7 separate regions of the Homo sapiens genome follow, and regions 1, 2, 3, 4, 6 and 7 are each linked to region 5. The links are contacts of gene promoters, found by promoter capture Hi-C in blood cells and fetal thymus (Javierre and others, 2016). All regions are on one chromosome and are shown on one strand. Each heading gives the region's core, a stretch centred on a gene start or on the middle of the fragment in contact. The rest is flanking DNA. Distances are from core to core; before and after follow the strand shown. Region 1 overlaps MALRD1 (MAM and LDL receptor class A domain containing 1). Region 2 overlaps PLXDC2 (plexin domain containing 2). Region 3 overlaps PLXDC2 (plexin domain containing 2). Region 4 overlaps PLXDC2 (plexin domain containing 2). Region 5 holds the start of PLXDC2 (plexin domain containing 2). Region 6 overlaps PLXDC2 (plexin domain containing 2). Region 7 overlaps MALRD1 (MAM and LDL receptor class A domain containing 1).

The links. The method cuts DNA at HindIII sites, captures the fragments that hold promoters and counts their contacts. A CHiCAGO score of 5 or more calls a contact.
Region 1: a fragment that was not itself captured here is called in contact with the fragment with the promoter of PLXDC2 in region 5 in 1 of 17 cell types (megakaryocytes); the score reaches 7.6 in megakaryocytes.
Region 2: a fragment that was not itself captured here is called in contact with the fragment with the promoter of PLXDC2 in region 5 in 2 of 17 cell types (neutrophils and M2 macrophages); the score reaches 6.0 in neutrophils.
Region 3: a contact is called between a fragment that was not itself captured here and the fragment with the promoter of PLXDC2 in region 5, in 3 of 17 cell types (M2 macrophages, neutrophils and monocytes). The highest score is 6.5, in M2 macrophages.
Region 4: a contact is called between a fragment that was not itself captured here and the fragment with the promoter of PLXDC2 in region 5, in 1 of 17 cell types (monocytes). The highest score is 5.1, in monocytes.
Region 6: a contact is called between a fragment that was not itself captured here and the fragment with the promoter of PLXDC2 in region 5, in 3 of 17 cell types (neutrophils, M2 macrophages and monocytes). The highest score is 6.8, in neutrophils.
Region 7: a fragment that was not itself captured here is called in contact with the fragment with the promoter of PLXDC2 in region 5 in 1 of 17 cell types (megakaryocytes); the score reaches 10.1 in megakaryocytes.

What each region holds. Positions count from the first base shown.
Region 1 is chr10:19,417,936-19,422,231 of GRCh38, reverse strand. All of the region lies in intron 28 of MALRD1 (MAM and LDL receptor class A domain containing 1), which reads right to left. Among named protein-coding and RNA genes, the nearest start is that of MALRD1-AS1, 310 kb to the left of the region's middle. The HindIII fragment of the contact is 1,732 bases long and covers 675-2,406 here.
Region 2 is chr10:20,226,605-20,230,464 of GRCh38, reverse strand. The region is part of intron 12 of PLXDC2 (plexin domain containing 2); the gene reads right to left. Among named protein-coding and RNA genes, the nearest start is that of MIR4675, 320 kb to the left of the region's middle. The HindIII fragment of the contact is 5,349 bases long and covers 1-3,860 here.
Region 3 is chr10:20,246,936-20,251,028 of GRCh38, reverse strand. All of the region lies in intron 13 of PLXDC2 (plexin domain containing 2), which reads right to left. Among named protein-coding and RNA genes, the nearest start is that of MIR4675, 300 kb to the left of the region's middle. The HindIII fragment of the contact is 4,441 bases long and covers 1-3,471 here.
Region 4 is chr10:20,286,132-20,290,198 of GRCh38, reverse strand. It overlaps PLXDC2 (plexin domain containing 2), which reads right to left. Exons shown (of 14, transcript NM_032812.9): 14 at 343-4,067. Among named protein-coding and RNA genes, the nearest start is that of MIR4675, 260 kb to the left of the region's middle. The HindIII fragment of the contact is 2,202 bases long and covers 1,623-3,824 here.
Region 5 is chr10:19,813,851-19,817,703 of GRCh38, reverse strand. PLXDC2 (plexin domain containing 2) reads right to left here and starts at 1,272. Exons shown (of 14, transcript NM_032812.9): 1 at 513-1,272. The coding sequence starts at 624. LOC124902388 (a long non-coding RNA gene) reads left to right here and starts at 1,476. Exons shown (of 2, transcript XR_007062078.1): 1 at 1,476-3,302. RefSeq lists an enhancer at 1,583-2,348. The HindIII fragment of the contact is 8,470 bases long and covers 223-3,853 here.
Region 6 is chr10:20,268,510-20,272,702 of GRCh38, reverse strand. All of the region lies in intron 13 of PLXDC2 (plexin domain containing 2), which reads right to left. Among named protein-coding and RNA genes, the nearest start is that of MIR4675, 280 kb to the left of the region's middle. The HindIII fragment of the contact is 4,857 bases long and covers 1-4,193 here.
Region 7 is chr10:19,401,822-19,405,906 of GRCh38, reverse strand. The region is part of intron 28 of MALRD1 (MAM and LDL receptor class A domain containing 1); the gene reads right to left. Among named protein-coding and RNA genes, the nearest start is that of MALRD1-AS1, 320 kb to the left of the region's middle. The HindIII fragment of the contact is 964 bases long and covers 1,907-2,870 here.

The DNA.
Region 1 (4,296 bases), core at 291-2,790, 400 kb after region 5:
ATTCCATCTCAGGGCTTCACAGAAAATTTTACTAACTACTAGTAATGCCAACATGAGGTTAGAAAAGAGCATGATTTAAATGGAAACTAATAAAAGCAGTAAGACTTTCTAAAGGTTAAATCAATGTGGTTTCCTTTTGAAAATGTCTTCCTGGAAAAAATGCTGTTTTTCTGCACTAGCATCTTTATCAGTCTTCCAGAGGATTCTGCTCATTACTGGGATCATTCATTATTCTTTGTTGTGTTTTAATTATTTTTTGTTGCATCATCAAAGGCAATTTGCTACAGATGGGTCCAGTCATATGCTCCTTCCATCCTTCTTGGCACAAACACACTCACTTTGGCTCTGATCTTCAAAATCTCTGCATCTAAGCCAAACTCTCAACATGTCTTTCAAGTAGAGGGTTTAACCCTTTACTGGCCAGGGGAAAAAAGGCAATAGCAATCTGCCTCTGAAAAGTGGAGAGAAAGACGATTAATTGTAAAAATCACCTTTATGAGCTGCTGACAATCCAATACTATGATAGTGGGAAAAACACAAATGATGTTTTTAACCTTATTAACATGACTAGAAGATATGGGATACGTTGACTAGTGCAGCCATTAATTATTGATGCATTTAGCAAAATTTGCAATAATGAAATGTGTTTCTCATACTCTTTAGTGTGTAAAGCTTTTAAACATTCTCTAACTGGGGCATAATTATCTAGGGGCACAGTAATTACAGGACTTGGTATCTGTAATGCCTCATACTTACTTCACTGCAGCCTCTAACCAGAAATTATAAATAATCCCTTTTAAGATTGCCCATCTTTTCCCACAGTTACTTGTTATTCCCTACTTAAGTTAGTGACTTTCTCCATTCATCTCCAAAGCTAGCATTGGAATGTCAGTGCTTAGAATCAGAGCGCATTGGAAAGCCAGGGTTCAAATCCTGGTGTCACTGGCAGAGTTTCTAAAACATAGCATTTAACAAATTCTAGGATGAAAGTGTGCACAAACATGCACACATACACATACACACACAAACAGATGCATCAAAAGCATCTTCAGAGACAGGAAAAGACATCAGGTATTGTTGTTTTGGCTGATTTGAAGGGGGCACTAACCCTTTAAGGTGGCTGATTACAGAGCAAGATCTCTCCCATTACCCCACACTCTGTGCCCCACATATCCTTGGGAATATTCATCTTTATCATTCAAATCCCATGATCAACCAAGGGTAGAGTCATTTTGCAAGTGTAAGAGAGGGTACTCAGGGAAGTCTATGTGAACAAAGTCAAAATGAATGGCAACTCAAAAGAGACAAGTAGCCCTGTTTCCATAAAAAATGAAATGCACCCTTCTGATTCCAGTGGTGAGGATGGTTTCACAGCCTTCCCCACTTTGGAGTTGCCCATTTGAGGGAGGCTGTGAGCCTCTGATGACGTTGCTACCCCTGTGCACTGCATTTATTGTGTATCTATCCCTGGAAGTTTCTGTAAGTCAAATGCATTTTTTAAATTTTACAATATTGCTTTGCAGCATGGGAGACAAAGCTCTGATCCAGGCAGAGGGTATGTGCACAAAAGACTCTAAAAGACACAATAATAAGGATTTAAAAATAACATGTTCCTTATCTAGTTGCAACTTGATTAAATGGCTTGTTACCCAGAGCATGAATCACTGATGAGCATTAGTTAAATATAGACATGACTTTAAGATAAAACTTATTCCTCTGTTTTTCATATTAGATGTAGGGAATAGTGATTCCATGGAAACAAATACATGATTGTTTTTCCTTATGAAGATAACTTTTGTTAGATATAAGTTCTAAATTTCTTTTCAAAGAATCAATATGTCAGTATGTTCAATTCTTTGCCTTCTACTTTTAAACTTAACTTCTTCATACAGCAACGTTTTTCGATTACCGGCTCCACCCTGACTCATTCCGATTACCTACTCCACCCTGACTCATTCCGATTACCTGCTCTGTCATAAACATTTTTCCTGCCAAACCACTCACCCCGTCATTCTCTTTAAATGAGCCAATCATAATTAGTTTAGCCTGCTCAGTCTAACCCTAGCCGACAGGGGAACGACAGAGCAGCAGGGGCCACGAGTGTCAGGCATAAGAACCCCTTCCCCTCCCTTGTCCAAGTGTGCGCTCCACTGCTCCCTCTGTAAGGGTGCAACCTTCTATAGAAGTATCTTGCCTTGCTGAGAATTAAAAAGAAAATTTTATATTCCAGTGCCATTTATTTTGCGGCACCAAAACTTTACATATAACACTTTGATCTTTCTATTTAATAGAGGACAGTGAGTGACACTTTATGTCTTCTTTTTATTTTTTTCCTTTCCTAATAGTAGGATAGTATTTAGTTTATTGATCCATTCAATAAACATTTATCATGCCTGGTTCTAAGCTTTACGAATAAGAAAAGTTGACGACTATTCAGGAGTTCAGAGTCTATTGGAAAAGATAGCTGTAAAATACAATACTACAACTACTACAATTAAAGTATGAATATATTGCAGTGATCACTGTTTTGGGCTGGAATGTTTCAGAGAAGCGGTAATACTGAATGGGATTTGACGAGTAAAAGGATTTTTCCATTTGAAAGAAGGAAAATCAGCCGGGCATGGTGGCTCACATCTGTAATCCCAGCACTTTGGGAGGCAGAGGCCAGCAGACTACCTGAGGCCAGGAGTTTGAGACCAGCCTGGCCAACTACTCTTTTTAGTAGAGACAGTGCAACCCCATCTCTAATAACAACAACAAAAAAATTAAATTTGCTGGGCATGGTGGCATGCACCTGTAGTCATGGCTACTCAGGGGGCTGATACAGGAGAATCACTTGAACCCGGGAGGTGGAGGTTACAGTGAGCTGAGATCGTGCCACTGCACTCCAGCCTGGGTGACAGAATGAGACTCAGTCTCAAACAAACAAACAAAACAAACAAAACAAAGAAAGAAAGAAAGAAGATGAAGAAGAAGGAGGAGAAGGAGAATGAGAATAAGGAAAATCATTTTAAGAGGACCATGTTTTAAACCAGGAAAGTGTAAAGGATCATGAGTTAAGGGAAATGAAGGTATTAAAAGACAAGGGTATATAGATCACGTGGGAGTCAGGTGGCAAAGGATGGAGATGTGGAAAGGAAGGCGGTTAGCTGGAGAAGGGTGTGCATACTGAAATGGTTGAGTTCATCCTCTGTGGTTATGGGAAACCACCAAATGATTTTGAATAGTGAAATGATCACGTATGTGCTCCACCATACTACTATTTTTGTGGCAGGATAGACAGAATAGCTTTCAAGGAGGCAATGTGGATAAAGGGCACTGTCCCAGGCACTAAGAGAGATGTGAAGTTAGAATGAAAGGAGGCCAATCCCAAAACTGCTATGTGATAACCTGAGCTAAGATGTTGGTTATAAGGATAGAAAAAATTATGAAAGGCTTAAGGGTTTAACTGAGAGACAATCACAATTTATTGACCTTAAGATTTGAAATATATATTTTTTCCATTGGCAGATAAAGAGATATCTCTTCTATGTGGCTTTGAAAATAAGCTTTCATATCACATTTCATGATTAAAATATGATGTCTTAATTTTGCAATTATTTTAGTAATCAGAAATGTATCTAAGGAAAATCATATGATCATAACAGTGTAGCATCCACCCTGAAATTATTCTCTGTTATTGTAAACAATTTAGACATCATGGAAGGCACTAAAAACAAACATTCCTTAAAATGTTACTACATGTCAGGCATAGCAGTGGCTGTTGGAGTTCATTTAAAGATGAATAAAACCTTAATCTCAATCTCCAAAAAACGTATGCTGAAATCCCAAGAAAAATATAAAACATACCTAAAAAGAGATTAGCTTGAAAAACATAATCTTTTTTTAAAATTATTTTTAGTTTAAAATCTTAATCATGGTGCTTATGTTTGAAAGCAATGTGTATTTGTTGGGGGCGTGGGGGGGAATGGTGCATATTTGATCTATTATCTAGCTAGTTTACTGAATATATCTCTTTCCTAGGCACAGATAATCTATAATGATAATTTATCAACATATCTATATCTATAGATAGATAGATAGAGACAGGTCAATTGATCTACATTCATCCTAAGGCTTTACTTTATGATGAAAATATTCATATGGGATCATCGATATTAAAAAAATTTGTCAAGACTTTTCTTAGATAAATTTGTTTTCCTTTAGAGAAATTAATCCAGAGGGCAGGTGTGTGTATGTGTGTGTGTGTGCGTGTGTATGTGTGGTTTGCTGTTGTAACCCCAGTGCACCGTAGGC
Region 2 (3,860 bases), core at 246-2,745, 410 kb before region 5:
CTCCTGGGACCAAACAATCTGCCCTCCTCGGCCCCGCAGATTGCTGGGATTACAAGCATGAGACACTATGCCTGGCACCTTTTTTTCCTTTTCATATTTTCCTCTGTTAATTCTCCTTGTCTTTAAATCTAATTTAAGCCTACTTAATTTGATATTTATATAGGCATTCCAGCTTTTCTGTGGTTATATTTGCAGTGTACATATTTTTCTATAATTTTACCTTGAAGTATTTTATATCTTTGTCTTTATTTTTCACATACATTTCTTATACACAGCATAGAGTTGGATCTGGCTTTCTTAAAAGTCAGTGTGATAGCCTATGCTTTTAATGAAAGTGTTTATTTTATTTACATTTGAAATAGTTACTAGTATGTTTGTATTTGGTCTGCCATTTAGCTATTCATTTTCTTTGTGTTCATCTGTTATATGGTCCTTTGTTCCTTCTTTCTTGTCTTTTTCAGGTTAAACAAATATTTCTTAGAATTCCATTTAAATTCCTCCAATGAATTTTGAGCTGTATGTTTTTGCATTTTTTTTCTTTAGTGGCTGGTGAGTATGTTAACTGTGTTAAAAATCACTTATGGCTGACACTTTATCCAACAAGTTGTTAATTTATTACTGTAACTGAAATAACATTCGGTCACAGTAGCTTACAAAACTGTTACAAATTAGTTTCAGATAATTAACTGCTGTCCTTAGTACTCAAGTTACATTAAAAATCTTGCACAAATAATAATTCGAGCTCTGAAGAATAAAACTAAAGCAAAAATTAGTCTTAACGGGAGGAGCAAACCATTGAAAACCTAGCTGTTTCGAAGAAGATTAACTAAATTTACCATCTAATGGATTAAACTACTCTCTTTAAAGCATTATGCCATTTTGAGACTAGCATATCTTTTCTCTCCATCAACCATCAACATCAATTCCTTTTTTTTTTTTTTTTTTTTGCTTAAAGTGGATCAGCATATTACGTGAGTAATACGCATGGCTAATTCAAGCACACGTGAACAAAATTCAGTGTTGAAATCATACAACCTCAAGGAATGCTACCAAGTTTAGGAGGCTGCAAACACAACCTGATGGGCCTTTTACACATCAGCAGTTGGCTTCCTTCCCATTCCTGTTTCATGTTTTATGGGTCTTTCAACTCCTAAACACCATGACCTCTGCCCTCTTCCCACTCACTCTCACCATATTACTTGTGTCTTACTATATGGAGAAAAGAGCAATCTTAGATGAAACCCCCTCAATTTCTCCCTCCTGTCTCCCTTCCCTCATTCATGCTGATTGGCTCCACCCATGCTTGTGGATATATCACTTCACTCCCAGTCATCTTTTGACTCTTTTTCTTCTTATGGGGTCTTTCTCCTCAGCACCTGTGACAGGTAAACAACAGCATTAAGAATCTCTACTTCCCTTCTTCCATTTTTCTTGAAAAAGCAGTCTGTCCTTGTGGACTCCAATTTCCTCACTGTCCACAGAATCCTCAAATTCTGCCTGGAGATTGTACAATGGTGGACTGTTATGCAATCCAGTCAAGATCAACAAATGTCTTTATGCCACCAACTCTCATGGTCACTTTTCTGTGTGTGTTTTTTTTAACTTGACTTGTCTGCAGCATTGACACTGTTCACTACTTCCTCCTTGAAATTTTATTCTCTTTTGGTTTCTGTGATACCAAACTTTTCTGTTTTCTTGCTGTCTCTATGACACTCTTGATTTTATTCACAGGACTTTAAATCCTGTATTCCCTCTCTAGTCTTTGGCCCTCCCTCCCTTCCTTCCTTCCTTCCTGCTTCCTTCTTTCCTTCCTTGTTTCCTCCCTCCCTTCCGCCCTTCCTTCCTTCTTTCCTCCTTCCTTCCTTCCTTCCTGCCTTCCTGCCTTTTTTCTTATTTTTTAATTTTTTTTTGAAGACTCACTGTCACCTAGGCTGGAGTGCAGTGGTGCAATCATGGCTCACTGCAGCCTTGACCTCCCAGTCTCAAGCAATCCTCCCACCTCAGCCTCCCCAGTAGTTAGGACTACAGGTGTGTGCCACCATGTCTTGCTAATTTATGTATTTTTTTGTAGAGACAGGGTTTCCCTGTGTTGCCCAGGCTAGTCTCAAGCTCCTGGGCTCAGGTGATCCACCCAGCTCAGCCTCCCAAAGTGCTGGGATTACAGGCGTGAGCCACCGTGCCTAGTCACTCTTTTCATCTTTATACTATCTTCCCATACCTAATTCATCTCCTTAACTTCAACTGTCATTTATACGCTGCTGATGCCTAAATTTGTATCTTATGGTTATATTTCTCAAGTTAATTTCAGGCTTATATAGAAAAATGCCTACTGACATTTTCATTTAGATATCAACATCAACATGCTCAAATTAAATTCACTGCTTACCCCCTTTCTCTTCCTGTATTTCCTATTCAATGGCACCACTGTCCACCCAGATAACTTACGCCCATGTCCTGGGAACCACCTTCGTCACTTTCCTATGACGTAAATCACACATCCAATCAAATATTAGCTCATGTAGCTTCTACTTCATTAGTAAATACTTCTCTTGTGCATTCTCTTTTTTTATTCCCATGGTCAACTACTACTTTTTTTTAGCCTCTGACCATTGCTTCTATGGATTACTAGTATAACCTCCTAACTAGATTTTCTGGCCTCTCAGTCTTACTCCTGTCCCTCCTGTTCCCTGCAATACTTCAAGGGTCAACTACTAAACATGTAAAATGTGTCCTGACACTCCCTTGTCAAAATGACACAAACGGTTCCCAAGATCTCTAGGTTAAAGTTCAAACCCCATTGCCTGGCGTAAAAGACTATGAATGCTGACACTCCACTTATTCTGATACTTTATGGCTGGTGAGGTTGAGAAACAAGCCCACCTTCTCAGCCTCACCAGCCTTAAAGCACTATGTATATAACTTTACCCCAGGAAAATCAAATCTGGCAGCTCTTTAGAGTTATCCAACCAGATCTTGATGTTTCATGCTTCTGAACCTCTTTCTATGTCAATCCCCTTCCTGAAATTCTTTTCTTCTCTCCCTTTCCTCAGAAATCCTGCCCATACTTCAAAACTTGGATCAAGTATCACCTATTCTTGTAATTTCATTTTTGTTTAGATACCCCTTCTCTGTTCTTATATAGTTTTTCTTGACTCTATCTTTGCACTCTTCACACTATACGTAAATATCAATTTACTTCTCTATGTCATCCCCTTAGGCCACTTGCTTCTTTAGGACAGGCATCAGACCATGTAGATCTTTGCATCTGCATCACCTAACAATGGGCCTGGTACACAATAGTTGAAGAAATGTTTCCCGAGCAAATCAAACCAAGTCAAATCAATTCAGCATCAAAGTTAATTGATGTTTTAGTGACATACATATTTTAGTGGTATAGGGCCATCTACTACAATAACTAGACATTTCACGTTTAAAAAAGAATAATCACTTTACACATGTAGAACACACCGAGAAGGGGCATTGGAAATATTGGGTAACACAAAACCTGTTCCTGGGGCCCCTCATATATCTCAGATTCCAAAATCTAATGGTATATGGAAGTTTCTTTCCTCCAGTAGAAGGTTCCCTGGTCCGGGTTTCTGATAGGAACAGGGCAGGTAGAAAATGAGACAGGAGGCGGACACTGAAAGGAAAGTAGGTATCCACCAAAGGGAGGTGGTCAATTATTTTGCTGATGGCAAATGGAAAGTGCATTTAGAGCTACTTTGTGGAAGCCATCTGTGTGCATTTCCTAAGAGGCACTCTGCTATATCATCTCGTTCTGTGTCCTATCGGCAGCATAAACTCTAACTACACATTCTATCTACAAATTAACCTACAGGGGAAAAAGTATATCCTGA
Region 3 (4,093 bases), core at 2-2,501, 430 kb before region 5:
TGATTTGCTTAATTATCTCATTTCCTTTTTACAGTAAGAAATCTAAAAGCTAAAGCCCATGTAAGTATTTTATATAAGGAAGAGTGTTGGTGTCCACAAAATGTATAATAACTGGTGTATATTTTCTGCAAGAAAAAAATACACAGATAACAGCCACTGACATTATCATCACTAAAAATAGACAACAATAGCAACAGCTACATGAATTGGTGTCATGCTTTTGGCAATATTTACTAAGTTCTTTTATACCATTCATTTCTTTCCTTTGATTCTACTTCTGGAAATCTGTTCCAAGGACATAATGTATGTCCTTGCATGTATATCAGCCTGCATTTCTACATACAGCATATGAAGAAAAACTCTTTATACATACAGAGGCAGCACAGCCTGGTGGTTATGGGCATAGTCTCTGGAGTTGGAGAGCCTGGGCTTAAATCCTGACTCCACTACTGACCAAATGCGTGATGTTGAGAACTTACTTAAGGCCCGTGCTTCAGCCTCCTCGTCTATGAGATGAAGATAATCTTTGTAACACACACAGTCTTCATGAGGATTAAATGAGGTAATAAGTGTCAATCACTTTATTAGTGAATTTGATAAATGTTGGCTGTTACTATTAATATGTTTATAATGGGGAAGATTAAAAATAAGAAAAAGTAGGAAGAGCACCATTGCTCTGCAATAGGAGACTGGGTGCATGAGCTCTGATATATACACTCAAGGATAGAGTCATGAATTTTTTTTTTTTTTTTTTTTTGAAACAGGATCTCACTCGATTGCCCAGGCTGCGACCAGTGCAGTGGTGTGATCTTGGCTCACTACAACCTCCACCTCCCAGGTTCAAATGATTTTCCTGCCTCAGCCTCCCGAGTACCTGGGATTACAGGCACGTACCACCATGCCTGGCTAATTTTTGTATTTTTAGTAGAGATGGGGTTTCACCATGTTGGTCAAACTGGTCTCGAACTCCGGACCTCAAGTGATCTGCCCGCCTTGGCCTCCCAAAGTGCTGGGATTAGAGGCGTGAGCCACCGCTCCCGGCCTAGCATCATTCAATTTCACCATATTATATACGCTGTTTAGCACAGGAACTAACTCATACAAGTGTTTAGTGAAGCCTGGATTTCACTGTGAAATACTCAAGATATCCATTGGGTTACATTTTAATATAATTGAAACTGGGACATATCTTGCAGTCAAGGGTGTGTTAGAGTTTAATTGGAAGCGTGTGATGCATCTCACATTTGATGCACTCTGTGCTCAACAGAATAATGGCCTCCCAAAGATGTCCATGTCCTAATCTCCAAAAGGTGTCAATGTTACCTTACACGGTAAAAAGGAACTTTGCAGATGTGGTTCAGTTAAGGACCTTGAGATGCAGAGAGTATCCTAGATTACCCAGGTGAGCCCAATGTAGTCACAAGGGGGCCTTACAAAAAGGAGGCTGGAGGGTCAACGTTAGTGGTAGGAGATGTGACGGTGGGAACAGAAGTTGGAATGATATGAGAAGAAACCATGAGCCAAGGAACACATGCGGCATGTGGAAGCTGAAAATGGCAAGGAAACGATTATCCCCTGAAGCCTCCCGAAGGAACCAGCCCTGTCCATATCCTGATTTTAGCACTTCTGACTTCCAGAGCTGTAAGACAAGTGTGTGTTATTTTAAGTAACTAGGTTTGTGGCAATTTGTTACAACAGCAGTAGAAAACTAACACACAGTCTTCATCTGAATGAAAAGAGGTCCTTTTTGACTTCTAGGCACATGTTAGGCTCTCAGTGCATTCCGAGTTACCACTTGACTGCATAAGAGGCAGTCAATATAAAGCTATTGAATGAATGTTGAATAGAATAGAATACAAACATTAAAATGATGTTTACAAAGCCATCATAATAAAACAGAAAAATGTTCTTTAAAAAAGAATACCTATTTGTATTACAGTGAAATCACCACTGTGTTAAATGGGCAAACATCAAATTATGTACATAAAAATTCCAGAAGAAAATAAATTAAACTATTAATAGTCATCATTTCTGCATGCTGGAACTATAAATGGCGTTTCTTCTTCCTTTTACATTTCTGCATTGTCTCAATTTCCTACAAAGAATGGTATCACTTTCATAAAAGAAGAAAGCACATCAATTTCACTTCAAAAGTAGATAGGAATATAATATGGAACATAAAAGGCAAGAAAAGAATGTTGTTATATTCAGTTCCCTCATTTATGCAACAACAATTCTAATGTAGCTAATAATTCAAAAATCTTAAATCCACGCGTCTGCATATCACAAACCATGGTCATTGTGGATCTGTTTTGATTTTGTAAACAGTGGTCAGTTTTAATAATAGTAAATTTATGATTATCACCTCCAAAAATCAGCTGCTTACCAGCCACTGTGAGCCGCATGACCCCAGCAGCATGTCAGATAGGTAGTGATTTAAGCAGACTCTGGCAACTGACTCCACAGGAAGGAAAAAAAGCCAAGCGGAGAAAAGCTGGGAGACCTGCTGAATGAATCTGCTTCACTTACATGTGAAAAGAAGAAAGAGTTATTCTTAGAACTATGACTCTTTGACCTTGGATAAGTCATTCCACTCTTCTGAGCCTCACTCAGTCTCTCCTTTTGTGTTAGGAGAGTATAGAACTAAATTATCTCTAAGATTCCATCTAGCTCTAATATTCTATAAATACATGTGTACGTATACACATGTAAACACTCCACACCTATGGACATACAGGCTCTGAGACATAAGACAATGAGACTAATACTCAAAACAATATTCCACTATTTTGCAGTCATACAGGGGTTCCTTTGAACCAGCTTTAACTAGATCTTTCATACTATGCAATTTGCTGCTAATACCATCACCATCAGATATTTCAGTGTCTTCTTTTTCACCATGTCAGAAAATAAACTGCACAGTTTGAAAAGGCTTAAACGTGTGAGGGGTTACGGCAGTAGCAGCAGCCTGAGGTCTGGCTAGTCCCTGAGGCTTTCTAGCTTGTCACTCAGCAGCTCTTTGAAGAATGCATTTGTAACTTTGAGAAGGTTGTCTACTTTCTTCCAAGAAAACGAAGCACATTAACAGAACTTAATAACAGATTTCCAATTCAAGGCAATGCGTGATAATATCTCAATTACTGATATCAAATGAAGATGCCATTTCTGAAATACATTTTATATGAAATTTCACTGGAAGTCTGAAATGTCCTAGGATATTTATTATGAACGTTTTTCCAGGAAATATTGGCAGAATCCCTATTTTTCAAAGGAAATGTAAGTGATTTAATCCAAATCTTAAGGCACTTACAAGTCTTGCAGGGCAGAATAAATCATGCGCATACTGGACTCTAATGCAAAACAGAAAGATGAATGCCAGAGAAAGGTAGGGGTGTATCCCTGCAGATAGAGTTTCAGAAGAGAAAGAGATTATACCCAGCTGCCGAGGCAGGAAGATGGTCTAGAGAAGCTTATGGGGTACACAGTATCAAAGGCCTTTTGGCTCCTAAATTCAAGAACTAATATGGGAAGGGAGGAAATTTTTTTTTTTCCTAGACCAGGCCTCACTCTATTACCCAGGCTAGAATGCAGTGGCACAGTCACTGTTCCCTGCAGCTTTGATTTCCTGGGCTCAAGCAATCCTACCATTTCAGCCTCCCAAGTAGCTTGGACTACAGGCATGTGCCACCATGCCCCATTCATTTTTTTCTTTTTTTCTTTTTTTTTTTTTTTGTAGAGATGAAGTTTCACCATGTTGCCCAGGCTGGTCCCAAACTCCTGGGCTCAAGCAATCTGTCTGCCTCAGCTTCCCAAAGTGCTGGGATTACAGATGTGAGTCACCATACCTCACCAGGAGGAATTTTTGATGGAGGAACTAGAATGAGCAATGTCTTTGTGACATGGAGAATTTGGGCTGTGTACAGAGACAAAGCATGAAATTTGACAGAAGTGCCAACTCCAGATTAGGGAGCCAAGGGAATAAAGATTGAAATGACACATAAGATTGAGAGTGCCAAGGCCTTGAGCCCCCACAGAAGGAAAAGGAGACGGCACTTTCTTCTACAGACAGTTGTGAGCTATCAAGGACATTTAA
Region 4 (4,067 bases), core at 1,474-3,973, 470 kb before region 5:
TGTTTAATAAAATAAACTGAAGGGGAAAAACTGCAAACTGCATATCAGAAGACTCTGATTCTAAAAATAGTGCTTTGGAAGAGAGAACCTGTGAGGAGAAGATCTGCTCTCTTTATTTATAAGAGATTGATCTATAGCTGATTTAAAAGCTGTGTGATTGTCATTAGCATATTTTCCTTTAACATATATCTGAACAAATGTCTATTGAATTATTTAAAGAAATGGTACACACTAAGTCATTTTTAAGAGCATTGGCCTAATGTTTTTCTATTGTTAGGGAAGATTGCATGATTCACATTAATAATTTTCCTTTTTTTGGCATCATAAAGACAATTCACACCATTTAAAATTGCACTTCTGAATTTACTCCACAATATCAAAGTTTAATCAGTACAGTCCAAAAGATCTATACAGAGGTATGATTCTTAAAAAATTATAATTGAGTTGTACAGAGCCAGTGCTCAGGGAATGCCACTGACAGGAATTCCCGACAGCTCCAGTCATTGTGTGTGCTTCTTGGGCATGGGTTCAGGTCTGTGCGTACTCGGTGTTGTTATAAAGGTAGTCCAAGAGTGGAGGATTGGGAAAAGGGGAAGGAATATTCAGAATTGGAGACATCTTGCTTTACACATTCCACATAAATTACCTGAGGCACACATCCAAAATATCCTGAGAATTAGATACAGCCATTTCCAGTTTGGAAGAAGGACAGAATAATAGAGAACCTTCTGGAACTTATTCAGAAAATCAAAGGAGTTCATAAAGCAAGATTAGTGACAGAGGCAAGAGCTGAACTGAAGTACCTTGACTTATTCCAGCACTAGGATTTAAAGCAGCAGCTAAAATCCCATCTGTCTGATCCAGGAGACTTGAACGCTTGGGCACTGTGGCTGGGAATAGGGGAAAAAGTCTCCATCCCATTGCCCACACACTGTGCAATCCTGAAATCTTTGTTTTCTACAGCTCCCTCTAGCTAGTATCAGTTTCCACATCGGGGTGGGTTTAGAAGCAAAATAACTTTCTATCTTGCCATCAGCCTTGTGCCTCTGAATTCTGCACACAGAATTTCTTCCACAATGGGTAGAACCTTTTGAACACTAATGGAAGAAAGGAAACAAAACGTATGTTGAAAGACAAGGTATTTAAGAAATTAAAACAAAATGCTCATTTACTGTTTTTAATATGTAGTCAAATATGACAGCAGTCTTACACAAATAGCTCCCTCCTCCCCCTTCTAAAATCCCAAATTTGTTGACTCCTACTGTAAGTGAAAAACATGGTTTGCTTCTGAAAATAGCAATCAACAGCAAAAACACAGGTAACATTTGGTCCCCACCAGCTTCCACACCTTTAAAGATAAATTGTGTCACTGAGGCAGTCAATACACTAAATTTCTTATCAAACTATTACTAGGGGAAAAAAATCAGATTTCCCACACACTGTAAGCAGAACCGAAAGAGCTGCAGAGAAACTTGGTTTAAGAAGCTGTGTGAAGAAAACATTAATGACTTATTGCAATTGTAATAATCCCCAGGTAAAAGATGGATGTCAAATTAATGGACTGTAAGGAAATACATTCAAACTTAGGTCATTAATATTACAGTGAACATAATCAGGAAGCTTGCAGAAGTATGTAGCATCTCTGAATTATTGAATTTGAACAAAGGTTTCCAATAGAGGTCACACTCTTTTTGCTCTCAGACACCATTAGTGCAGATTCAGATACAATCATTTTTACATTTGCAGGCTCAGGTACGTTCAACAGAAGGTCACCGAGAAGTATGGGCTGGTTATTTTAGCATGACAGAATGCAGGCTTGGAATTTCTCCTTGACATGGCAGAAGAAATAGGAATGATGCCCAGAGGACTGGAATAAATTCAAAATGCTTGGTTTTCCAAGTTCTATTTTAATAAACTTCGGAAAATTAACCTTTCCCTGAAAGACACGTCCTTGGTTTGGCACACAGGGCTTTCCAAAACAGTGAGAAACGAACTGGCCATGTGCTGCACTCACACACATAGTCATTCTTTTTGCTTGGGGTTGACTAGGTTCATAGGGCCAGATTTTCCTCAGTGTCCTCTTGTAGCAGTGCCGCAGTGAGCTTTGTGATTCTGACAAAGGGTGCCATTATATCCACTTTGAAATGCATTACAAATATTCTGCATGCTGGTGCAACTGGCATAAAATCTGGAAAGCCACCGCCCCCCCCCCCTCCCCCGCCGCAAGAAGTGCCCAATTTCTTCTCTTTTCACACTTCAACATTTCAAATGACTACACACAGAATTACCAGAAACAGTAGTAAATTCCTGGCATTCGAAGTTCCCATGATCCCAGCTGGCATATAAAAAAGACTCTCTCCTTTTTTTCCCCTGAAAATAATGTACTCTCCAGGCACTGTTGAAATGCTTCAAATCAGGCAAATGAGAGATTTGTTTTGACCAATCAATGAAAAGACTTCCCCCTCTTCTCCGTGAGGGCCCCAAGACTGGGTTACGCCATACACAAGATGTCTGTTTCTAAAGAGACTTCACTGATTTCCCTAAAATGATTTTAACATTTCTTTGCAAGTGAAGCTCTGATGTTGCCTAATGTTATTTTCAGAGTAGCCTGCTGCAGGATGCCTAATTTGAGTTTTTATTTCCCTGCTATAAATGTGACAATCTGAGTATGTTTTCATTCAAACCACCTTGAACATGGTGGCTGAGGCTTCACCACAAATGTCCAGAAAATAGCACTGGAGTCTGTCTGAGTCCTGAGATGGTCAAATCTCAGAGAAATCCAGCTCTGGGCCCGGAAAGGAAAGTGCCATCTCTTAACCTTTCCTCAGGAAAATTATTTTATTGATTTTTTTGCCTTATTTTCATGCCTTTTAAGTCAAAGGAAGATAAATGGAAAGTCTCTTTTTGGTCATTCACTAATTCTCTAGGGCAAGTCACATAATTCTCTAGGACAAAGGCCTCCATGATGTTAGGATGAATGCCATAGAAGAGGTATGGGGGGTGATGGCTGCATTTTAGACTAATCATAGGCATATCCTTTGCTTTCTCTATGTCAGGGGTCTCAGCATTGCTTGCAGAATATGTGCCCCAGTGTCTGGATGTCTGAATGACCTAAATTTGAGCTGGTCATCAATGAGTATTTATTAGCACATTGCTCTTAAGAAGTTAATAACTCGGCCAGGCACGGTGGCTCAGGCCTGTAATTCCAGCACTTTGGGAGGCGGAGGTGGGCGGATCACCTGAGGTCGGGAGCTGGGGACCAGCCTGACCAGCATGGAGAAACCCCGTCTCTACTAAAAATACAAAATTAGCCGGCTGTAGTGGCATATGCCTGTAATCCCAGCTACTTGGGCGGCTGAGGCAGGAGAATCGCTTGAACCTGGGAGGCGGAGGTTGCAGTGAGACGAGATCACGCCATTGCACTCCAGCCTGGGTAACAAGAGCAAAACCCCATCTCAAACAACAACTAAAAGAAGTTAATAACTCTGCCTAATAGCACATTTAGATTTTTATTTTTTTTTCCATGAATCATCTCCATTCACTCACTCTTAGGTTTATACTTTCCCCTAAAATTCCCCCATGAAACTTCTAAAATTAGTTTCATGCTATGTATTTGTTTGATAGGCACAGAAGGTTTACAGCTGCATGGTCAGTAAGCGATACTTTGGTCATGAATGTATATATACATATATATTTGCAATGCTGAGAAAAAGAGAGACTGCTGTTAAAAATCAAAATTCTCGTGGAATGAAGAGAAGCCACTGAGATTTTTTTCAACCAGAATGAAAATAAATAAAATATCACTATCTGCCAAATCAAAAGCTTTTATGTTATTCCATTATGAAAGACATTTATTGAGTAATTTGCAAATGTTAATAAGCCTTAGAAACTAGGAAAAGCTGAGTACTAGTTTATGACTTACATTTAATTTTTTTTCCAGCCTTTTATCCTGGGTTTAAAGTAACACAGAATCTTTCAGTGTCAACAGTGAGCTGGAAATTAACCTATAATAACAAGTTTTGAGCATTTTGCTCCTCCAGGCAAAATTTGGTCACTCATAATAAATA
Region 5 (3,853 bases), core at 23-2,522:
TCACTAGACGGAGCTAGTGGGGATCGCCAGGGGAAGGAAGGTGCTGCCACAGGGAATTTTCTCGTGCAGAGGGGAGACCTGCAATCCCTGGCTTTCACAACGTCCCCCACCCACCCCATACCACACACGCTTAGTTTAACCAGCAGCGAGGAAGGAGGAGGAGCCGGAGAGCACACAGCCTGGAGATGCCAGGTCCTAGGAGATGTATCCACGGAAGAAGCTTTGCTCTCACACTGAAGCCCTCCCTGGGCTACTTTGGGGAGACAGTACCACCCCCTGCCGCCCAGGTGAAGTAAGCCCGAAAGCCTCAAGAAAACCCCTAGTCCCCGGCGTCCTTCTCTTGATAACCCTCTTTCCCCATTTGGGAAGCCTAAGTTTAGCCGAAAAGCAACTGCAATAAGTTTCCCAAGGGCAGATAGGTGATGTTGGGGGGAGAGGGTAGGGAGCACGAGAGTGCCAGAGAGGTCTTCAGCTGCGCACAAAATCAGCAAGCTAAAGTGCATCTTACTTACCAAGGATTTGGTCTCCGGGTTTCCCATCGGCGAACTGAAACTGGTCCGTGAAGAAGTGGCAAAGTAACATAACTCCTGCAGCGGCCAGGTCGGCCTTCGGGAACCTCGCCATGCCGCCGCCGCCACCTCCCTACCCCACCCGCCAGTCCTTCGCCGGTGCTCGGGGGCTCCCGATGCAATAGGCACGACCGGGCCAAACGCTGCGGATCGGTCTCGGTAGGACCCGGAGGCCTTTGTAAATGTCGCTGCGATTTCACAGTAGGGAACCGAGAAGAGGAAGAAGCGAACGCGAGTAGGAGCGCAGCGCTCTTCGGACCTCTGAGGCTCTCTTTGCAACTTGCCACACTCGCAGCCCTCACCCGACACTGAACAACAACCGCGGGGAGGAGAGGCCACTTGCAGCCGAGGCTCGCAAACTGTCGGTTCCACTCGGGCAGCGCCAACCCGGTGCCCGCGGACGGTGACTTCCGAGCCCCAGCGATGCGCTCCACTGGGTTCAAAACAGATCTAATTCCACAGCCAGCGCCGCTGCCTGCCCCAGATCCACTAGGGCTGGTCGGCTCTGCAGGAACTTTCCTCTGTCTAGGGATGGCCCCGGCAGGAGGTTTAGGTTTGCGGGAAGGAGGTTGATGACGAAACCCTCCCGACAAGTTTTGCTTCTTTTCTTCGCCCGACGCAGGGCGCGCGTCCTTTCTCGCAGCCGGAGGAATGGGCAGCTCCAAAGAGCTGAGCCCTGGGAAGGTTAGGGCTGCAGCAGTCTGAGGTCCGAAGCCAGGAAAAAAATGTGTTTAAAAAAAAAAAAAAAAAAGAGGAAGAAGAAAGGAAAAGGGTGGAGTGGGAGGGAGTCACGCTGGAACCTATCGGGAGAGGGTTCCTCCGGGCTCAGGAGGAGGTGGCCCCAAGCCCCCGCGGAGCCCCAGGAGTTTGGTGGCGGAGGAGGCGCTGCCGTCGCCACGCTCCCCCGCGCTCCTTCTCCACACTTTGAGGAGGGAAGGCAGCTCGCAATTTGCCAGATCTGCCGCCGCACCCTCCTCCCTCCTCCCTCCGCCCTCCCCTTCGCTCCTCCAGGCTTCTCCCACCTTCCTCCCTGAAACCGGCAGCCCGCACAGACCTGTCCAATGGCTGCACTTTCCTCGGGGCTGGCTGAGGAGTCGCGGCCAACAGATTAAGCCGGGGGAGCCTAGCGAAGGGGAGGGAGAGGGCCACTCCAGCCCCGTGCGCCCCAGGCAGCCGGCTGCCCCAGAGCGCGGGGAGAGGGGACAGGCCGGGGAGCTATCGGGGGAGCGCGGGGCGGTACCTCCGCGCCGCCGGGGCGCCATCCTCGCAGCCTGCTCGCACGCCCTGGGCAGCTCCGCCAACTGCGCCCCACACCCACCTGGCTCCCGGGCCGCCTTCGCGCCCGACTGCGGGGGGCGATCGCGCCCCGCCCCGACCCTGGCGGGGTCTCCCTGGGCACGAAAGGGTTAACCACAGCTCGCCCCTTCGCGGAGGCTGGTTCTGGTAGTGGCTAGGGAGTGGAGAAAGCAAACCAGAGCCGGTTCGGTTACCGACTCTGCGAAGCCCCCTCGACCCCAGCCCAGCGCGGGAGGGTGGCGGAAGGTGGTGCACCGCAGCGTGGTCCCCGCCGCTGCCGCCGCGGCTTTGCAAAGTGTCAGCGGGGGCGAAAGCGAGAGTTTAAAGGAACAGGAGGCCCATTGAATTTCCTACCGGAGCTTTCAGGGGCTCTGGCTCCCCAGTTTGTTTTTGTTTTTTCAGCTCGGGGATCTGTTTCCGCGTTAACCCTTGCCGGCCCTCTCGTTAGTTGATATCTTATTTTGCATACAGTTAATCATTTTTGAAAGGGATAAATACAAGGAAAAGAAGCAAAGCGCTATTGGTTAAAAGTACAGGATCTAGAGCCCGGACAGCCTGGGCTGGAATTTCACCTCCCCCGCAATGAGCAGTTTATCTCCTAGCCTCAGTTATCCATCCATCAAATGGAGAGAATTAGAGTAACGCCCTTATAAGGTGGTTGCAATGGATTGGATGAGTTAACTGTATATTTAATAAATATAGAACATTGCCTACCGCAAAGTACATGGCTTTGTTTAAGTGTTTACTGAAGCAAAAGTGAGAGAAGACGACTTCAATCACATAATAAATGTGCATGTGTTCTAAGTTCAAGGTCCTTTCCACTCCAAGCTCTGAAGAGTCTATGGATGCTGTCAATAGATGTCTCGGCTTGCCACAAAACCCACTGGAAGTGGATCCGGATAATCAATCTACCTTTGCAAATGTGATGCTCAAAGGACGGCTCTCTCATGGGAAACAAGAAAGGTTTCCCTTAATCCAATACTCAATTTGCTCTTTATTTCCAAACAACAGATATACACGTATAAACACAAACATATATCATGCCTATACTCTTTATTATGCCAGGACCCTGGCTCTTTCCTGAGCTTTCCTCCCATAGGTTGATTTCTACTTAGGTAACTGGGTTTTTCTATTTCTGCTTAACTAGGAGTGTTTAAGTTCTATGTAATATTACATCCGAATTTGAGTACCCGGATATATACCTGCTTAAAATCAAGTTTGAAAACTGAGTCTTCTCATCAAAACCTGATTGTGCGGTTGACCCTTGAACAACAGGGGTTTGAACTGCGAGGATCCGCTTTTGCATGGATTTTCTTCCTCCTCTGCCACCCCTAACAGAGCAAGACTAACCCCTCCTCTTCCTCCGCTTCAGCCCACTCAATGTGAAGACGATGAGGATGAAAGCCTTTCTGATGATCCACTTCCACTTAATAAACAGTAAGTATATTTATCTTCCTTATGATTTTCTTAACATTTTCTTTTCTCTAGCTTACTTTATTTTAAGAATACAGTATGTAATATGTAGAACATACCAAATATGTGTTAATCAACTGTTTTTATATTATCAGTAATGCTTCTAATCAACAGTAGGGTATTAGCAGTTAAGTTTATGAGGAGTCGAAATTATACATTAATTTTCTACTGTGTGGGGGTCCGTCCCCCTGACCCCCATACTGTTCAAGGGTCAACTATAGTTTAATTGATGCCGATTCTTTTTGAGGATCATAAATCCATGCGGAAAGCGTCCCAAAATATTCTGCACAACTCCAGCTCCCATCATATCTAAAATAATGGGGAATCCAGCGGAAACCATTTCAAGAAAGCACCTCTTTTTTCAGACCGAGTTATTTCTCCTTCTTTCACAGTAGAAAAATAGGTGTTTCCTCCTCTGAGAACAAGCAAATCTCCACCTCTCCTTGCTATCATTTTCTTTCTTTTTTCCTTTATTATTTTATGTGCGTATTCGCAGGGTTCATTTTTCTTGTTAC
Region 6 (4,193 bases), core at 1,055-3,554, 450 kb before region 5:
ATAATAACAAGCCAATTTTATTTGAGTCAGTTTTATTATAATTTTACCATTCTCTCAAGATGATGCAACCCCTTTTTACCTGTACTTGGGAACACATAGCTTTGATCCACCATGGCTGGCAAAGTGTTATATACAGGGAGATTCACAATAAGTGTGTTCACTTGCACAGATCTTATTTATAGTTTATGCTGCCATGAGAGGCATGGCACTCAGACTCATGGGTGACAAGCTCTCTTTCTTGAATTTTTTTTTTCCTTTTTTGACTTCATTTTTTTAAATAATTACTTTTTATTTAAAATAAATAAGCCCTCTTACTCACAGGGAAAATATGAAAGTAAACTCTGTCCTCCTGGTCTAAGACAGAAACCACATTCAGAATATGTTCATTTAAAAAGGAAATATTTGTTGATTATCAAACAAATCTAGGTACTTCAATACACATTGTTTCTTTGAAAAATAAAGACTGAAAGGAATAATTCATTTCAAAAAGCCACAGGTTAGAAAACCAATTTTCCTTCTGAGGCTCATTTTAGCAAATCCTCCAAGTGTTCCCAAATCTTTTTAAAAAGCTACATCCCCTGAAAAAGGGCCCTTCCCCTGTAGCCCTCTTGCTCTGACACCAGCAGCCCTGCACCCTTCCCACTATTGGCCACTTTGTTGTTCAAACCGAGCATGACTGTGTGATAATGCATTCAGTCATCCGATAAAATTAGTATTTGCACAACTTTATGTAAAACAGTACTAAAGATAAGGCATTTATCTTATTTATAGGGAAAATAATATATTTGTACATAAAAACTTGAACGGGAGCTAACCAATGAGATTTGAGAGTCAGCGTAATATCCACTTCCATCCCTTCTACATTTCTCCTACCTCACCTCGAAGCTGCTACCTCCAGAGCCTGGCTATTACATGGCACTGCACTATGGTGGAAGATCACATCTAATTAGCCTCTGTAGTTCACCCAGGCTTCACTTAACTTCCTGCCAGCCTGCATTCCATAGAGGGCCTCTTCAGTCAGCTTACTGTCTGTTCTCTCCTTTATCTGACCATCAATTCTGGGTAAGTTTCCCCAGTCCTCAGCACAGATCCTTATCTTCTATATTTTTCTATTCCAGATCCTAAACAGAACCAACTAGTGGAGAAAAAAGTCACATGTTCAGGTTCACCCAGTGTCAAAGAATCACACTCTAATTTCCATTGGAAAGTCAGTGATTCATTTACTCTTCTCTTGTTGAATTCTTTTCACCAAACATCAGGAAAAAGCGTTTACTTGATGTTTCTTTGAACTCTCAATACTATATCTCTCTGAAATGTCTGGCCCCATCAATTGCCTTCATGGTACAAAACCATTTTTCACCCTCAGTGCCTGCTCCCCGCTTTAAAACTGCATTCTCTAAGGTTATCAATGACTTAGCTGTCAACATCTTCTGTGACTCCTCTAGAGCACTTTACACTGCTGCCTGTCTCTTCAATCTTGACGCTTTCCGTTTTGTGGCTTTCTAGGATGGTATATTTTCTTGCATCTTGCTCTGTTTGTGTGTGTGTGTGTGTGTGTGTGTGTGTGTGTCTGTTTTTTGTCTTAAACGGTCCCCTTTTCTGATTCATCAACATTAACTGTCAACACGTCCTAAGGTTTCGTGTTGACAAGACCCAACTCTTTATTCTCTTGGGTTTCAACTTCTACTACTAGTTCCATATTTTCTCACCTGATTGTTTACCCATATCCATTCCTTTTTTTTTTCCAGTTTTTTTTTTTTAAGATACCCAATTTCTTGACCATCAGCTCAAACCAAACCTGCCTAAAATCCATCCTGTCACTTTCCTTCCTAAACTAAGCCTTCTGATGTTTTTAATTCTGTCATTAGAAAATTCAATTTCGGCAGGGCACGATGGCTCACACCTGTAATTCCAGCACTTTGGGAGGCTGAGGCAGGCAGATTACCTGAGGCCAACATGGTGAAACCCCGTCTCTACTAAAAATACAAAAATTAGCAGGGTGTGGTGGCAGGTGCCTGTAATCCCAGCTAATTGGGAGTTTGAGGCAGGAGAATCACCTGAACCTGGCAGGCGGAGATTGCAGTGAGCCAAGACCATGCCATTGCACTCCAGCCTGAGCAACAAGAGCAAAACTCTGTCTCAAAAAAAAAAGAAAAGAAAATTCAATTTCTCAGTTGCTCAGATTCTGGACTTTGAAGTTATCTTTGATCCTTCTTCATCCTACATATTCAATGTAATGAATCAGGGCATCCTCCTCACCTTTACCACTAATTTGATATAGGAAACGTTCAGAAATTGCTTACTTTCTTGGAATCTCAGTCATCCTAACCGTAAAACAGGGATCTAACAATTCTATATTTACTGAGCTCACTGGGGAGTACTGGGAATCGAATATAACTGATTGAAAACCCTTTCACATATAAACCTTTACGCAAACAAAGATTGCTAAATTCTACCCTCTTCCTTCACATGGCTCCTGTATTAGCCTCATTCTTGTCCCTCTATAAATACCCCAATTCAGCTCTCAGCAACCACTTCACGTATAGACTACCAATAGTCTTCTAACTCCCTTGGGACCATCATTTCACTCTTCTTCTGGCTCACTCTCTACTCCTTCCCCACAACCATTTTAAACTCCCACTTCTTTTTTATTTTATTTTATTTTATTTTATTTTATTTTATTTTTTGATGGAGCCTGTCTCTGTTGCCTAGGATGTAGTGCAGTGGTGTGATCTCAGCTCACTGCAACCTCCACCTCCTGGGTTCAAGAGATTCTCCTGCCTCAGCCTCCCAAGAAGCTGGGACTACAAGCACGCACAACCATGCCTGGCTAATTATTGTATTTTTAATAGAAACGGGATTTCACCATGTTGGCCAGGCTGGTCTCGAACTCCTGACCTCAAGTGATCCACCTGCCTCTGCCTCCCAAAGTGTTGGGATCACAGGTGTGAGCCATCATGCCAGGCCCAAACACCTACTTCTTTATTACATCACTGATTCTCGCTGCTTGTAGAATGATAGTTAGCTTCTGTGGTTTGTCCTTCAAAGCCTACCATATCTTCCATCTATAGTAAAGCCATTTTCAATATTTGCCCATAGATATTAACACATAGTTAAATAAGTTGATTCATCTTGACCTTTCTTGATATGTTTTTAAAATCATAATATATCCCCATTCCATCTGAAAAGGTATCTCCCCTTCCTCTCTGCTTAGCCAGAACATAGCACCCTTTCAAAACCCTGCACAAATACCATGTCTTTAATGAGATTCCTCCTGATTCTCTCTCTCTAAGTATTTTATAGCATTTGACGGAATCCTTTATTCAATATTGATCATATCTTTGATGTTCCTTTCATTATTACTGAATTCTTATGTGGCTGTTTGGCCTTAAAATTTTTGTGTCCTCTGTCTTTAGATGCATACTAAGCTGGAAAATATAATTACACATAGGATGAGCATATGATTTATTGTCCAAATCAGGACACTTTTGAGAATAAATGGAGAAACTATTAATAATTATATCAGACAACAGACATATACAGAATAGTTCTTGGCAAAGTGGAATGTATGTTTACCTTAGTTATACCCCCCTGTAAATGTAAGAGACTCTAGCAGAGTATACTGCACAGATTCTTTGGTTTTGACTAATTTTCTGTGATACCAGCTAAGAATATTCTAATCTTCTTCAGCATTAGCCTTAGTTCATAATATGTTAATAATGCTTTAAGCAGCATATCTTTATTTTTTGAGCCACATTGCCACAAGTGGTTATTTTCTACCCAAATCATGTAATAATTTGCTATTAGGCAATCTACTCTAAAGAAAAGTACTTTGCAGAAGGTGTGAAAACAAGCCAGTTCACCGCTGCCTGGTGACTGAGTTAAAAGACAAGATAGTGCTGCACTGGTCATAAATATTCTAATGAAAGTTGAATGTGAGTTAGTGCTGCCTCCCTACAACAGACTGGCTGTGTTCCTTAAGAAATTGTTCTTGTCAAGTTACTTGTGTCTGGAGTGCCAGTGTATTTCTAAGTGAAGCTCAAGAAATCTGGCAAGTTAAGGTCTAATCAGCAGTGACCCTAGGAATGGTTAATGGTGAGTTATTTTCTATCCTAAAGTAATTGTGTGCTTTACTCCATATTTAATCACATGATTAAGAAACAACACAAGAGAATGATTTATGTCATCAAATC
Region 7 (4,085 bases), core at 1,139-3,638, 410 kb after region 5:
CTATAGGTCAAACGGTCTTCATCGCTCCAGCAAAAAGGAAAAAAAAAAATGCATCCTAACGCAAAAGTAATCCCTATGTTTAGTGAGTGGTGTTATCTGAAAATGGAGTCTATGTATGCATTGGAAGAATAGAACATGTGGCTCCTTTAAAAGATTCAAAGGAATGAGTCTAGGAACTAGGATATGTGTATGGAGAGAATCTATGTGTGAAAGTTTGATATCTGATTTTCCTTTTGTACTCTGAGTACAGCCATATTCTGGGTTCTAAGATTCTAATTAGGATCAACACTTCTGTGAAATCTATAACATGTAAATAAGCCTTGTGTTGGTGTTTTTGTTTTGAACTGATGGATGGGACCAAAGAGAGATGTGGTTTTCCTCCCATTGAATCTTTGTTGAAAACAGTATGTTGATTATAGCAGATGATCAAGTCAGGGGTCTCAGACTCTCAGGCAGCAACTAGAACAGAATAATCGATGGCCAAAACTATTGTTGGAAGTTGCAGGGAAAAGTACACAATGCTGAGAAGCAGTGCACAGTAAACAACTCTGTGGTAGATATAAAAATAATCTCAAAAATACAAGAGAATGGTGGGACTTCAAAGAGGGAGAGGAGGTGACCCTTCTTGTTGAACATAAATTTCCAGAAAAGGTAATAATTTTGTTCATATTTCTCCTTCTACATTCTACCAGTAGTTCTAACTTCCTTCATGCAAAATAACAAATAAGATGTTGACGCATTCTTACCAAATTAAGAAATATTTAGAAAGTTGAGGTAACGTGTATATATGCAAAACACCACTTCATTTCAATGCCTCATTTCTAAGTTTGATTATTTTCACAAATTCTGCCTTTCACAGGTTTTTTTGTTGTCATGAAAAACCTACTAAATAAAGTGCTACTTCTCTTCATGAATATACAAAGGACATGCATTTTCATGGATGCATTTATAAGAAGTTACAAGGAAAAGCAACTAGTACATTTGCTTTCTCTTCTCTGTGCATAGAATTTCGTATATTTTCAGAGCTCACCATATATGAGAAGATGCAAATGGATATATCCAGTACTCTGTTATGTATAATGATTCTGATCCAGGTGTTCACATTGAAGTTATTAAATTTAACAGAAATTTTCTGGAGTGCTATTTTTTAAACAAATTATTTCAGAAACAGAATTTTAAGTAATGTGCAGTATGTGTGTGCAAAATGAGTGAAGTGATATAAAACAATCACTTCCCCAGAGGTCTAGGAAAACAAAGTGACTCTATTATGGATATGTCACTTATTTGCCACCATTGATTGTTTTCCTACTCAATGATCTGGCTATATTTACATTAATAAAATTTTCTAAAATATTTAACAGTGCTGAAGCTACTTAGAAAAAAACACATATATTTGTGGCTTGGAAGTTTACAGGAAAATAAGTGGAAGATTTTCAAGGGAGCAACATACATCAGAAACTTCTAATATGAAATAGAATATACTACATCTTAGTCAAAGATAAATTATCTGTAGTTCCAGGTCAACACTCTGCCCTTAATCATTCTACAAGGCATAAAAAAATTTTAAGTACGGAGATATCTGCTTAAAATTATTGTACGAGATTTTTTCCTAATGATGTTTATTACTACATGGATAAAGTAATAATAAAAAAAGCATAAGTGCATTCTGAAATCACTGCAAACCATCTATCTATAAAAATAAAACTGTTCACAATCTCCCTACATCTAAGGAAACATAGTAAATTGTAAAAGTTTTACTTATATGCTCCCATTGTATTTTGTGTTCAAATGGAAAAACAAAATAAAAAGTATTTTTTTCTCTAAGCTTTACTATATTTTTAGTTTATCTTCTGCTTAGACATTTTTTAAAAACCTCACAAGAAACAAAATTGCTTAGTAAAAAGCTTAACGTGTTTAATGCCATTTGAAGTATTATTTTCTGCTTTTCACAATACATGTTTTCTTATGTTTTATATTCTTTTGACTACCAAGAAAATTCAGCTCCGATTCTAATGAAGCCACCAAAGTAATTAATTTCAATGTTCTGCCTTATAATTTGGGGATTTTCTGAAAAATAACTTAGAAACAAACGCTAAAAAGACTAAAGAATATTCTCACCATTCTTTCATCATTCAGGAGCCATATGCAGCTCTAACTTTGGTACGATTTTATTTGCTGAATGACCCCCAGTGAAGTCAAAAAGAGTCAAGATAACTCATTAAAAATATGACCTGTAAAATCCTTAGGGCTCATGAATGCTGATGAAAAGAAAGCCATGAATTCACATAAAAATATTATTTTACCCTTCTTTTTAACCTTAAGTCTCTAAGTCACTTCAATTGCTAGCACTCAGAATAATGATCCCTCAGCTCATAAGTCTGAAAAACTAAGTCTGCTTTCTTGTCACCAACACGTTAGCATAAAAGAGGGCAAAGCAATGCTCAATGATTATATGTGGATATATTAAATGCCACATTGTGAATGGAAAATAAAATGTATCAGCATTTGTAACCTATAACAAAGTCCTCAATGAGTCATTCATGGAATTTTTAATGGCAAAACCCTAATACATATGGTCTAATTCATAAAGTAAATTCATAACCAGATGGTCTAATTTATAAAAATAATAGTAATTCATCCAAGTCCACTTTTATGGCTTCTATTTTTTATTCATGGAGGCATAATATTCACAATATGATGTAAGGGTTTTAAATCAGGACTACAAAACTAGACTTTTTTTTTGGAAAACATAAATTCTTTTTAGACTGCATAGATAATTCCATCATCAGCTTCCAATTTCCCCTAAATCTTCCACTTTGTAAATTATTATTATAGGTTCACATATTTTTCTCCTTGTTTATAGTTAAGCTTCTTTAAGCACTATAAATGTCTTATTTTTTTCTAACATTATATGAGTCTACAATGAGCCATTTATTACGGAGGACACAAAACTAAATTGTGCCTACATCTGACTTTCAAGGTAGTGGTAGTAAGTGACAAGACGCAGAAGGGAAAATATTCAATCTGGATCTAGGAAGATGTTCAGGATTTGGTTATGTCAAAATCTACATGTGTGTGTTTGGTGGGGGAAGGATGGAGGGAGACAAGCATTCCAAATGTAGAAAAAGATATGGATTTAACAAAGGCATGGATAAGAAAAAGGCACAAATAAGAGCATGGAAGACACATGTGTATTAATAATATGTGGTTACCCTGGCTTATTAAGAAAGATTTTAAGGGAATAACTATTTTATTTTATTCATTTTTTTGGAGATAGGGTATATTAGTCTGTTCTCATGCTGCTAATAAAGACATACCCAAGAGTGGGTAATTTATAAAGGAAAGAAGTTTAATTGACTCACAGTTCCACATGGCTGGGGAGGCCTCACAGTCATGGCTGAAGGTAAGTGAGGAGCAAAGTCATGTTTTACATGGTGGCAGGCAGGAGAGCTTGTGCTCCGATTTATAAAACCACTGGATCTCCTGAGAGTTACTCACTACCAAGAGAACAGTACAGGGGAAATCACCCCCGTGATTCAATGATCTCCACCTGGCCCCGTTATTGACACATGGGGATTATTACAATTCAAGGTGAGATTTGGGTGGGGAAACAGCCAAACCATATCATGGGGTCTTGCTACGTTGCCCATGATGGTCTCAATCTCTGGGACTCAAGTTTGGTGATTGTGTTAAGTTTGACAACTTGCTCTCTCAAAAGATAAAGAACGATGGCCTTCCCAGAAGAAAGAGCATTCTCAGAGACTGACAGGTGGGACTTGGAGAAAAAGTAGAGGGTATAACATGCATTGTTAAGAGGGGCCAATATTGCCCCCAAGGGGACAAAAATTGGTTTTGAGGGAGCAGAATTTTAGATATCACGTAGTTTTTGGCTTTCCAAAGCTCAGTGTTACATGTAAGTCTCATTCTTCAATATTTAATTATTCTTGTTGGGTTTATGTAAGTATCATGTTTTCTTAAGTATCAACATGAGTGGTATTAGAGTTCTTCAAAATTACATAAAAAGTACACAAGACAAATGCTACAAAATGTTGGCAAATAGATTGTTTTGATTAAATAACTCTCTT